2 separate regions of the Homo sapiens genome follow, and region 1 is linked to region 2. Evidence: promoter capture Hi-C in 16 types of primary human blood cells and fetal thymus (Javierre and others, 2016). All regions are on one chromosome and are shown on one strand. The core of a region is centred on a gene start or on the middle of the fragment in contact, and the rest is flanking DNA. Distances in the headings are between cores, read along the strand shown.

The links. Contacts are between HindIII fragments. The CHiCAGO score rates a contact against its expected background, and 5 or more counts as called.
Region 1: a fragment that was not itself captured here is called in contact with the fragment with the promoter of OGT in region 2 in 3 of 17 cell types (fetal thymus, total B cells and naive B cells); the score reaches 7.1 in fetal thymus.

What each region holds. Positions count from the first base shown.
Region 1 is chrX:71,292,216-71,297,511 of GRCh38, forward strand. It overlaps NONO (non-POU domain containing octamer binding), which reads left to right. Exons shown (of 12, transcript NM_007363.5): 5 at 2,012-2,313; 6 at 4,350-4,445; 7 at 4,636-4,832; 8 at 5,162-5,246. Among named protein-coding and RNA genes, the nearest start is that of ITGB1BP2, 6.9 kb to the right of the region's middle. The HindIII fragment of the contact is 894 bases long and covers 3,600-4,493 here.
Region 2 is chrX:71,529,842-71,535,921 of GRCh38, forward strand. It overlaps OGT (O-linked N-acetylglucosamine (GlcNAc) transferase), which reads left to right and starts at 3,263. Exons shown (of 22, transcript NM_181672.3): 1 at 3,263-3,495. The coding sequence starts at 3,459. It also overlaps a transcript of TAF1 not described here. RefSeq lists enhancers at 2,314-3,513, 3,014-3,353, 3,179-3,837. The HindIII fragment of the contact is 929 bases long and covers 2,688-3,616 here.

The DNA of each region.
Region 1 (5,296 bases), core at 2,797-5,296, 240 kb before region 2:
AGACGGAGTATCACTCTTGTGGCCCAGGCTGGCGTGCAGTGGCATGGTCTCGGCTCACTGCAACCTCCACCTCCCGGGTTCAAGTGATTCTCCTGCCTCAGCCTCCTGAGTAGCTGGGATTACAGGTGTCTGTCACCACACCCGGCTAATTTTTGTATTTTTGGTAGAGACGGGGTTTCACTGTTTTGGCCAGGCTGGTCTCGAGCTCCTGACCTCAGGAGATCCACCCACCTTGGCCTCCCAAAGTATTGGGGTTACAGATGTGAGCCACTGCACCTGGCTGGAACTTTTTTGTTTTAATTAGGAAATTTCAAACATATAGAAGTAGACAGAATAATAATGAACCTGCACATATGCATTGCATAGCTTCAGTAATTATCAAGTTGTGGTTAATTTTGTTTTATCTGTACCCTTTCCCTATTTTGTCCCCCCATGATCAAGAGATGGGTATCTCACCATGTTGCCTTGGCTAGACTTGAATTCCTGAGCTTAAGCAATTCTCTGTCCTCAGCCTCCTGAGTAGCTGGGACAAAGGCAACGCACCACGGTGCCTGGTTTATTTGTATCTTTAAAAAACTATTTTAAATTGAATTAACCAGGCATGGTATACGTCTGTAGTCTAACTACTCAACTAGGCTAAGCTGATAGGGCTGATTGAGCCTAGGAGTTTGAGGTTACAGTGAGCTATGCTCATAGCACTGCACTTCAGCCTGGGTGATAGAGTGAGACCCAGTCTCTTAAAAAAAAACTAATGATGGTAAAACATACATAACATAAAATTTACTATCTTAACCGTTTGTAAGTGTAGACATTATTTTAAAATCTGGTTCGATTTAGGGAAAGTATATGAGAGGAAAACATTTCTAGACATTATCTACCTCCATAAATGGAAGAGAATAATGTGACAGCAGGATCACTGGATGGGGTGGTCAGAACTGATTTTCATTCCAATCTGCCAAGTCATTTTTCTCTGGGTATCAGGTTTCTCTTTAGTAATATGAAAGGGATCCTGTCAAGGTTCCTGGTTCCAAAGAGGCTTCTTGGAGGATATTCGTGATTCTGGTACATACCTAGCAAAAATTAGACTGAGCATGGTGGCTCATGCCTGTAATCCCAGCACTTTTTGGGAGGCCAAGGTGGGCGGATCACTTGAGGTCAGGAGTTTGAGACCAGCCTGGCCAACATGGTTAAACCCCGTCTCTATTAAAACTACAAAAATTAGCTGGACATGGTGGTAAGCGCCTGTAATCCCACCTGCTCAGGAGGCTGAGGCAGGAGAATCGCCTGAACCTGGGAAGCAGAGGTTGCAGTGAGCTGAGATTGCTCCACTGCACTCCAGTCTGGGCAACACAGCAAGACTCCGTCTCGAAAAAAAAAACTAAAATATTCTAGGTGGTTTTAGGGTGGTCTTTGAGTTTTTGTTTTCGTTTTTTTGAGACGGAGTTTTGCTTTGTTGCCCATGCTGGAGTGCGGTGGCGTGATCTTGGCTCACTGCAACCTCCGCCTCCCGGGTTCAGGCAGTTCTCCTGCCTCAGCCTCTGGAGTAGCTGGAACTACCAGTGCGTGCCACTGCGCCTGGCTAATTTTTTGTATTTTAGTAGAGACCAGGTTTCACCCTGTTGGCCAGGATGATCTCGATCTCCTGACCTCGTTATCCACCCGCCTCGGCCTCCCAAAATTCTGGGATTACAGGCGTGAGCCACCGTACCCGGCCAATGGTCTTTGTTTTCTGGATGATCTGTTGTCATTGGGAGAATAATACCTATGAAATTGATGATCACCTAAGTGTTATTGACTTCTAGAACTACATGTGATTTATTGCAAGGCCATCAGAAGCAAACTAGGGTGGCCAAAGAGCTGAAGCACACAGTTAAGTTCTTTCACTTCTGTTTCTTTGTATGGTTGTTTAGTTTTTCCGGGGAGATATTGAACTATACTGCTTTAGACTGTTGATGGCTGCTAAGGTGTTCTTTGTCAAACTGAGTTATTCTGATTTTCCTCTGCTTCCTAGGAAACCCGAACCCTAGCGGAGATTGCCAAAGTGGAGCTGGACAATATGCCACTCCGTGGAAAGCAGCTGCGTGTGCGCTTTGCCTGCCATAGTGCATCCCTTACAGTTCGAAACCTTCCTCAGTATGTGTCCAACGAACTGCTGGAAGAAGCCTTTTCTGTGTTTGGCCAGGTAGAGAGGGCTGTAGTCATTGTGGATGATCGAGGAAGGCCCTCAGGAAAAGGCATTGTTGAGTTCTCAGGGAAGCCAGCTGCTCGGAAAGCTCTGGACAGATGCAGTGAAGGCTCCTTCCTGCTAACCACGTAAGTGAGGGTCATTTTCAGACGTAGACCTTAGATTGCTAATTCCTTCCATGGTCTGGAGAGTTAGCCTCTAGTAACCACTTTTCTATGTTTAAAGACTTTTGGTCAGCCTGGCATGGTGGCTGACTCCTGTAATCCCAGCACTTTGGGAGGCCGGGGCAGGCGGATCACCTGAGGTCAGGAGTTGGAGACCAGCCTGACCAACATGGTGAAACCCTGTCTCTACTAAAAATACAAAAAATTAGCCAAACATGGTGGCGTGTGCCTGTATTCCCAGCTACTTGGGAGGCTGAGGCAGGAGAATCGCTTGAACCCAGGAGGCAGAGGTTGCAGCGAGCTGAGATCACGCCACTGCACTCCAGCCTGGGCAACAGAGTGAAACTGCCTCAAAAAAATAAATAAAAGACTGGGCAAAACAGCGGCTCACGCCTGTAATCCCAGCAATTTGGGAGGCCGAGGCGGGCAGATCATGAGTTGAGGAGATCAAGACCATCCTGGCCAACATGCTGAAAGCCCGTCTCTACTAAAAATACAAATAAATAAAATAAAAATACCAAAATTAGCGCACATGTAGTCCCAGCAACTTGGGAGGCTGAGGCAGGAGAATCACTTGAACCTGGAAGGCAGAGGTTGCAGTGAGCCGAGATTGTGCCATTGCACTCCAGCCTGGCGATAGAGCAAGACTCTGTCTCAAAAAAAAAAAAAAAAAAAAGACTTTTGGCCCAGGCGGGACAGATCACCAGGTCAGGAGATCGAGACCATCCTGGCTAACACGGTGAAACCCCGTCTCTACTAAAAAATACAACAAATTAGCCGGGTGTGGTGGCGGGCGCCTGTTGTCCCAGCTACTCTGGAGGCTGAGGCAGGAGAATGGCGTGAACCTGGGAGGTGGAGCTTGCAGTGAGCCGAGATTGCGCCACTGCACTCCAGCCTGGGCAAGAGAACAAGACTCCGTCTCCAAAAAAAAAGACTTTTGGTATTAGCCTGGGCATGGTGGCTCATGCCTGTAATACCAACACTTCAGGAGGCTGAGGCGGGTGAATCACGAGGTCCTGAGTTTGAGACCAGCCTGGCCAAGGTGGTGAAACCCCGTCTCTACTAAAAATACAAAAAGTAGCTGGACGCGGTGGTGGGCGCCTGTGATCCCAGCTACTCGGGAGGCTGAGGCAGGAGAATCACTTGAACCCGGGAGGCAGAGGTTGCAGTGAGCCGACATTGCACCACTGCACTCTAGCCTGGGCGACAGAGGAAGACTCCGTTTCCAAAAAAAAAGACTTTTGGTACTAAGCTTTCTCGTATGATTTTTCTGTAATCTTATATTAATAGACGTGGGATGACGATTATGAAAAATAACTTTTTAGTCATTCGGTAGGTTGTCATGTAGTCAGTGTTAAGTCTCTCTTTACTTTGAAGATTTAGAGTTCTGAAAAGTTGATTTGTGCCTGCAGTATCTCTTAGTGTTTACCACAAGTCATTTCTCAGAGTGTCTGTAGATGTTTAGGCTGTACTTAAGTACTGCACCTACCTACTTGGAATATCTTTTTGAGACTGTATTCAGAGATCTAAGTCCTGATTTCGTCCTGTCAACCCCAGATTTTCTTTTTTCTTTTTCTTTTCTTTTTTTTTTTTTTTTTGAGACAGTCTCACTCTGTAGCCCGGGCTAGAGTGGTGCAGTGGCACAATCTCGGCTCATTTCAACCTCTGTCTCCCGGGTCCAAGTGATTCTCCTGCCTCAGCCTCCCAAGTAGCTGGGATTACAGACGTCCGTAGAGTCAGGGTTTCACCATGTTGGCCAGGCTTGTCTTGAACTCCTGACCTCATGATTCACCCGCCTCGTCCTCCCAAAGTGCTGGGATTACAGGCGTGAGCCACCACCCCCAGCCCAACCCCAAATTTTTTATAATGTCATTAGGTATAAAAACTTCAGAAGCCTCCAATCCTGAGCCCTAGCTAATTCATTGTGCCAGTGACATGTGTAGAGAAGAAGCCTGGTGGGGTATGATTTGATTAACACTGAACTTTGTTCTTTCTTCCAGATTTCCTCGTCCTGTGACTGTGGAGCCCATGGACCAGTTAGATGATGAAGAGGGACTTCCAGAGAAGCTGGTTATAAAAAACCAGCAATTTCACAAGTATGCAGTCTTGATAGATTTCCCTATTAGGTGTTTCCTTCTTAAGAAAGCTTATAAAGGGATATGTAAAAGAGGCAGGTCTTTGCTGCACATGTTCACTGGCAGCCATTATCTTGGTCCTCACAAGGAATGCAATTCTTAGCTGGGGTAATTCTGGACAAAGTTAGTAACCTAGGAACCTTGCCTATAGGGAACGAGAGCAGCCACCCAGATTTGCACAGCCTGGCTCCTTTGAGTATGAATATGCCATGCGCTGGAAGGCACTCATTGAGATGGAGAAGCAGCAGCAGGACCAAGTGGACCGCAACATCAAGGAGGCTCGTGAGAAGCTGGAGATGGAGATGGAAGCTGCACGCCATGAGCACCAGGTCATGCTAATGAGACAGGGTGAGTCTAGGCCTGTAAGTCTTAAAGCTGAAAGGACAAAATGACATTTTTAAATGGGTTTCTTTGTATCAATTAACAGAAGGGCCTACATCTCTGCTTTTATACTTAGTTTGCGTTGATTTTGGTAGATAAATAGGCTTGGAGATGTGGCAGAGATACTGGATTCTGTGGAGAAGGAAATGATAGGTATAACTTCATTTTGGAATCTGGACACCACAGGTGGTTCCAAAGGAATTAGATCCTCTTTGCTTTCTGGATCTTTATTTGAAGAAAGTCATTAGATCTATATGAAGACAATGAGGAATATTCTTAGTCTGTTGTTTTTTTAGATTTGATGAGGCGCCAAGAAGAACTTCGGAGGATGGAAGAGCTGCACAACCAAGAGGTGCAAAAACGAAAGCAACTGGAGCTCAGGTAACTTTTCTCGAACACTTTTTCCCTAACAACTCTAAAAGGTAATGTCT
Region 2 (6,080 bases), core at 2,013-4,512:
CAGTGAGGATTGTGGAGGGAAGTGGACCTTATTGGTCTTTGAGCTCTCACATCTTTAAAGACTGTTGGTGCTGAGAGAAAAAGTATCCTCATCTGGCAGAACTCCCATAGGGTGTGCTCCCCTTGCTGTTCTGCTTTTGTTTTGCAGAAAGCTGCCTTTTTCAATGTACTCATTAGGCTTTCATTGTTTTTTCCTTTTTTACCTTTTTCATCTTTCACTGTTGATATCACAGGTGGCCATATCTTTACCAGTGCAGCTACCAAATAAGAAATCATCTTTTCCACATTCACTAGTTAGTGATGGTTGTTGTACTACCATGAAATCAGTTTCTTCTTTACTTTTATTCAGGTTACAAGATTTCTGGAAGGTTTTAAGATCAATTTTAATTAGTCTTTGTGACTGGTTACTTCATCCAGGGGACCAATTTCTCTCTGGAATATTAGTCCCGCACCCCTGGAGAGCCTGTGCGGCTGCATCTCCCTCCGGAGGTGGTTCTGGAGTTGGTTCCTTTTGGTGGGTTCCTGGTCTCGCTGACTTCAAGAATGAAGCCACGGACCTTCACGGTGAGTGTTACAGCTCTTAAAGGTGGCACGGACTCAAAGAGTGAGCAGCAGCAAGATTCATTGTGAAGACGGAAAGAACACAGCTTCCACGGTGTGGAAAGAGACCCGAGTGGGTTGCTACTACTGGCCTGGTGGGTGGGTGGGTGGGTGGGTGCGGAATGTGGCCAGCTTTTATTCCCTTATTTGTCCCCACCCATGTCCTGCTGATTGGTCCATTTTACAGAGTGCTGATTGGTCCATTTTACAAGGTGCTAATTGGTCCATTTTACAGAGCGCTGATTGGTCCATTTTACAGACTGCTGATTGGTCCATTTTACAAACCTCTAGCTAGCCACAGAGCACTGATTGGTGTGTTTTTACAGAGCACTGATTGGCGCATTTTACAAACCTCTAGCTAGCCACAGAGCGCTGATTGGTGCGTTTTACAATCCTAGCTACAGAGTGCTGATTGGTGCATTTTACAATCCTCTTGTAAGACAGAAAAGTTCTTTAAGTCCCCACCCAACCCAGGAAGTCCAGCTGGCTTCTCCTCTCACATCTATGTATTTCTTTGGCTTCATTTAACCTTTGGAGCCATTTTTTTTCAGCAGCAGTGCAACAGCAGCCACCAGCCCGGGTCTCATCCAGCGCTGGTGCTACTGCTGTGAAATGTGTGTTGTTCTGAGCAGCTGTATTTGTGATACTTTGTTACACAGCAGCAAAAAAAGTAATGCAACATCAGTGGTGTTACTGGGTGACAAAGTTTGGGATTGGGGTTGAAGACCCAGCTGATTTAATTATAATTGGTTCTAAATTTAAAATTGCACATAAAAAAAACCCAGAAATCAATGTGAACAACAATAAAAAACATACAAAAGCACTTCCTTCAATGTCTAGATCAAGGCTTCTTTCTCACCCCCTCCAACCTTACCTGTTTCCTCCCTAGATATTCATAGAGAGTAATATATTTTATCATCTAAATAGTCTTCTGTATTGCTCTCTAGTAGCTTTTTGTGTCTACCTAACTAGGCTTCAGATTCCTTGAGGGCGAGGATTTCTGTTCATTTTTGTGCCCCCCACAGTGCCTTGCACATAGAGACTCTAGTAAATGTTACTTATTGGCTGAAGAATTAGGAACATGACCTGCATTTAACAACAAAAAGAGTTTTTGTTAATTAGCTAGCACCCGCTCATCAGCAAGGCCTAAACATCTGCCAGTGGAATCTGAGAAGTCTCTTCTAAAAGTTGAAAAGCTGAGTTTACTCATTACAGATAGGGAACTTGTAGTAGGTGTGTGTGTGCGGGGGGGAGGTTTTACCAGTTAAATCAAATTACAAGAGGTTGGTGCTCAATTTTCAGGAGAGTTTGTGTAGTGATTTTTGTCTTTTTCACTGCATGATGTGACTCTTGATTATGGGATGGAAGAAATTAGCATTATGAATTTTCTCTGTGCCATTTCCATAATTAATTGTTTGTTGACTGTTTTGAAGAAATTTAAGCAGAATTTGAGGACTTAGTTTTAAAAAATGTAGTGAAGGGGCTAGGTAGCAAAAACTTTTTGAAGAAATTCATTGACCTGCTTTCTTAGATCAAGGACTTTTTGAAATAAAAAGGCTCTCAGAGATCCAACTTGTAGCCTCCAGTGGCTTGTAATACTTTCTTGCTGATGTGGCAAGCTACCTTAAGTCGTTTCTAGAACAAGAGGTGAAGTATAAATACCAATGTGACAAAATGTCTGAACAGTAGACTTGAAACTGCAGGAAGATCGTAAGAACCGATTTGTTCAAGGAAGTAGAGGCAATTCATGACTCAATCTAGACGTGTGGTTTAGGCAGATGGCAAGTGAATTCATTTATCATTGTTGATCTGCTTTGAGCTCAGTGGAATCGCCGACTGTGACAATGTGCAGAGCTAGCTGGTGGAAATGAAGTCACAACTCGAGGAGAGTCATGGATTTTGACGAACGTGAATCACCTTTAACATTTTTATGGCTGCCTTCGGAGTGCAAACGCCCAGCATGTCCCTGAGTTATTAAACATTTGCCCTATCACCGTGGGCAGGAGTATTCTGAATACCAAAACGATTTTGAAATTTCAGGCTATACGGCCAACATTGAAGGTGTCTGCATTCAACTGGCCCTGTGAAAGCTTCAGTCTTTTTCATCGAAGTGCTGAAATCGATGGCCGAGTCACAATGAAGACGGGCTCAAATCGGAACCCTCTCGCTCCTCGTTTTGAGCAGCTGTCTTTGAGAGGCAATCTTCTGAATTGACTGGCTCAGAATTGATCCGTGAGAGTCGTAACCATCCGTTTTTGTACGAATACAGTTGATAAACTTTTTTAGACGCCTTTGGCATTTATGTTTAAAACGACACCACCTGCTAAGTAACAAACACTCTTCTTAATCGCGGTGGCAAAAACGTATCCGTCCCGTGTGTGTTTGTTTTTACCCTTCCGCTACACTCTTAAGAAACTTGGCCGCTTCCGCCCCAGAGAGTGCCCTAACCACGAGTCGGGTTGACAGGGCTGCTCGCATGCGCGGTCTCCACCGTGGTGTTTGTCGCAATGGGCGCTGCGCGGAGGACTACATGGAATCTCGACTTTGCAGCTTGAAGTCATTTTGTTGGCGGCGCTGGTTACCGGCTACCTCCGCGCGGGCACTTGATTGTAACAGAAAGTAGTTCCGGCCCATGTTGTTTCGGCCGAGGAGCCGTCGCCGCCATTTCAAGACCGTACTAGGTAGATGGTCAATTAGAGTTCCCAGGGTTTGAAGCCTGTAACTGCTGCCGCCGCTCAAGCCCTCCAGAGCATTGCTACGGCTGCTGCCCTTGTACTACTACCTCCAAATACGTTCTTGCTGGTAGTGGCGGCAGCAGGACCAATTACCTCTTTTTTGCTCTCCCTCGAGAAGCTCCAGATGGCGTCTTCCGTGGGCAACGTGGCCGACAGCACAGGTACCGGTGTCCCGTTCTACCTTGGCAGATGCCCCCTTGGGGTCTCGCGCCGTCCTCTACCTTGTATCACTCCTTCCCTCCCTTCCCTCGAACCATCCCCATTACATCAGTGACATTGCTAAGCTTTTCGTGGTCTACTGGCATCTGATCACATCGGGTTTTCCGCTGTTGTCCGCTTCCCGAACATTTCCTCCTCCTCCCTTGCTTGCTTTTTGCTGCCTTTCTTGCTTTGTTTTTATTTCGTAAATGTTCTAGCATTCCACTCTCTCCAGGCGCTTTTATCACACGTGCGCGCTTAGAATGTCGTGGAATGGACTGCATTGGAATCCCTGCCCTTTCACTCCTTTGCAGCGGTTTTCTCCCCTAATTCCAGCTCATCGCCTCTCCTTTTTCCCCTCCATCTCCTCCTTCATCTCCCCCCCCAGTCTTTTCCCCTTAGCCAGATTTGGTCCTTCTCTGCCAATCTAGGGCGGGGGTGCCGTTCCGATGTAATCATATCCTCACTTTGCATCACCCGAGGACGATCAAAAGCTCGTCGATGGTGCCACAAGTCACCTCGAGAAGAGGGGACATTGAGCAGCACCCTGCTAGGCAGTGCCTTTCTGGTGTTCTTTCGGTTGAGCGGTCCCGGTTTAGATTGGAAATTTCCAGGGGTTTCCTTTGCCATCGCCCAATTCCACCGCTGCCCTCAGCCTGGATTTCCCACCCTGTCCGCGGGGAACCACACCCTTCCCTTCGCGAGGTTGCCAGCCCTGTTCACTTCCTATCCTTGGGGGAGAAACCACCCCGATGCTGCTGCTTTGGCGTTGACCACCCTGCCCGCCCAATTCTCGCTTTGTGTTACTTTCTCGATGTATTCCTCCGCCGCCGCCTCTGGGTCTGCCATCCCCATTCTTCAGCCCAGTATCTCTTTATTCACAGGGTGTAATATTCTTTTAAGTTTCCATCCCTGCTTGAAGAGTTTGTAAAGCAACTGGAGTGTAGCTGCACAAGTACAAGGCGGTTGCCCTTTTAGACACTTCAGTCGCGAGCATTTGGTACTGAAAATACGAAAACAACCAAATTGTAGGAGTGTCCTTCAGCTGCCTTTCCATATTGAGGCGATTTGGGCGGAAGGGGGTGGGGAATTGGGCTGCGCTTCTGAGGTTTCCCGCGAGGTTATTTTTTGGTTGTTTCTCAGTTGAGATGTGTGGAGGGTTTTAGCTACTGTTCCTGGAAGTTGTGCTGTAAGTAGTAGGTGAATCGTCAATAGTGTCTTATCCGTAATTGTAGGGAGTGGGATTAATAATTAGTCCGTGCTCCTCTCCCCACGTCTCCACCGTGATTTTCAAAGGTTTAAGATTCTGTACTGGATTCTGTACTAGCTTGCCCTTTTTAATGTGTTATTTATTTGAGAAAGCTGTCGTTTCAAGTGTTAAAATAGCAGATAAGCGGCATTGAAAAGTGACAAAGTAATGTGTGAAAACAAGGAGCTAGGAAGTTCTAGAGACTTAGCTAAAATGTAATTTTAGTTTCTATTAAAGATATAACCTCTCCCAGATGTGGATGCAAGTCTCAATGCTCTTTGTGTTGGTGGTCAGCTGTGCATTCTGTCAGGAAATTTACTTTGCTTTCCTCAGTATCCGGAACGCTCATCAGCTCTGATGATTGGGGAGCTGGGCTCAAATTTGAACTAGTCACCTTAACCTTGGTAGAATTAAATAATTTGTCCATGGTTTCCCATTTCAACCAGCTAGTGAAGTGCTACGGTCGAATTCCCAGTTTAAGTATTTACAGTTGTGACAAGCAGTTTTTTTTTTTTTTTTTTCCCTCTCTGGGCTTTAGCTATATCCTTTAAAGATCTTTATGTATCTGGATTAAGTCACTTGCAGCGAAGTGCTTTTATTTATTCATTATGTTGCGCTTTATCAAATATATTTTAGCGTCCATCCTCCCTCCCTCCCAACGTTTTGACCATTGCAGTTGCAGGTAACTGCCTGGCTTATATAGGCTTGTTTGCAATGTCTTAATCCTTTAGTCAATACCAGAGCTGTTTGGAAAATGTTAGTGCTAAACCAACGTGGGTGGGATTTAGCCAATTTAGTCTCCTTTTGAGTTTGGGATGGTAGAGGAGCAGTGTAATCTTGGGTCTTTATTTAAAATGTTTGATGACCCCTTTAACTATTTTGGCTGTTGTCAAATGACAAACATCTTGTTTATCAGCTGTTTTAAAAATAGCACTTTGACTTTTTGGTTTTTCCCTTAGGCTCGTTTCTACTTGTCCTTTTAAAGAATTAAATTCTGAAATATACAAAAATTGATATAATTTAAAGAATTAACACATCTGGTGTCCTCACTGAGGTTAAGATTGATAGATTGTTACCAGTACTCCACCTCAACAAATCCAACCTGAAATATGGCACAAAATATTACGTTTCCCAATATGTTATTCTGATATTATTAAGTCTTTGTGACCTTGCAAATCACACGTTTAATATTTTGTTTCTGTATGTTAACTAAGGTATAAGGAATAATGTTCAGTGAATCCTTAGATGCTACCTATGATTTATAATTTAAAAGTACAAAGTATTTTTGGTCATAAAATG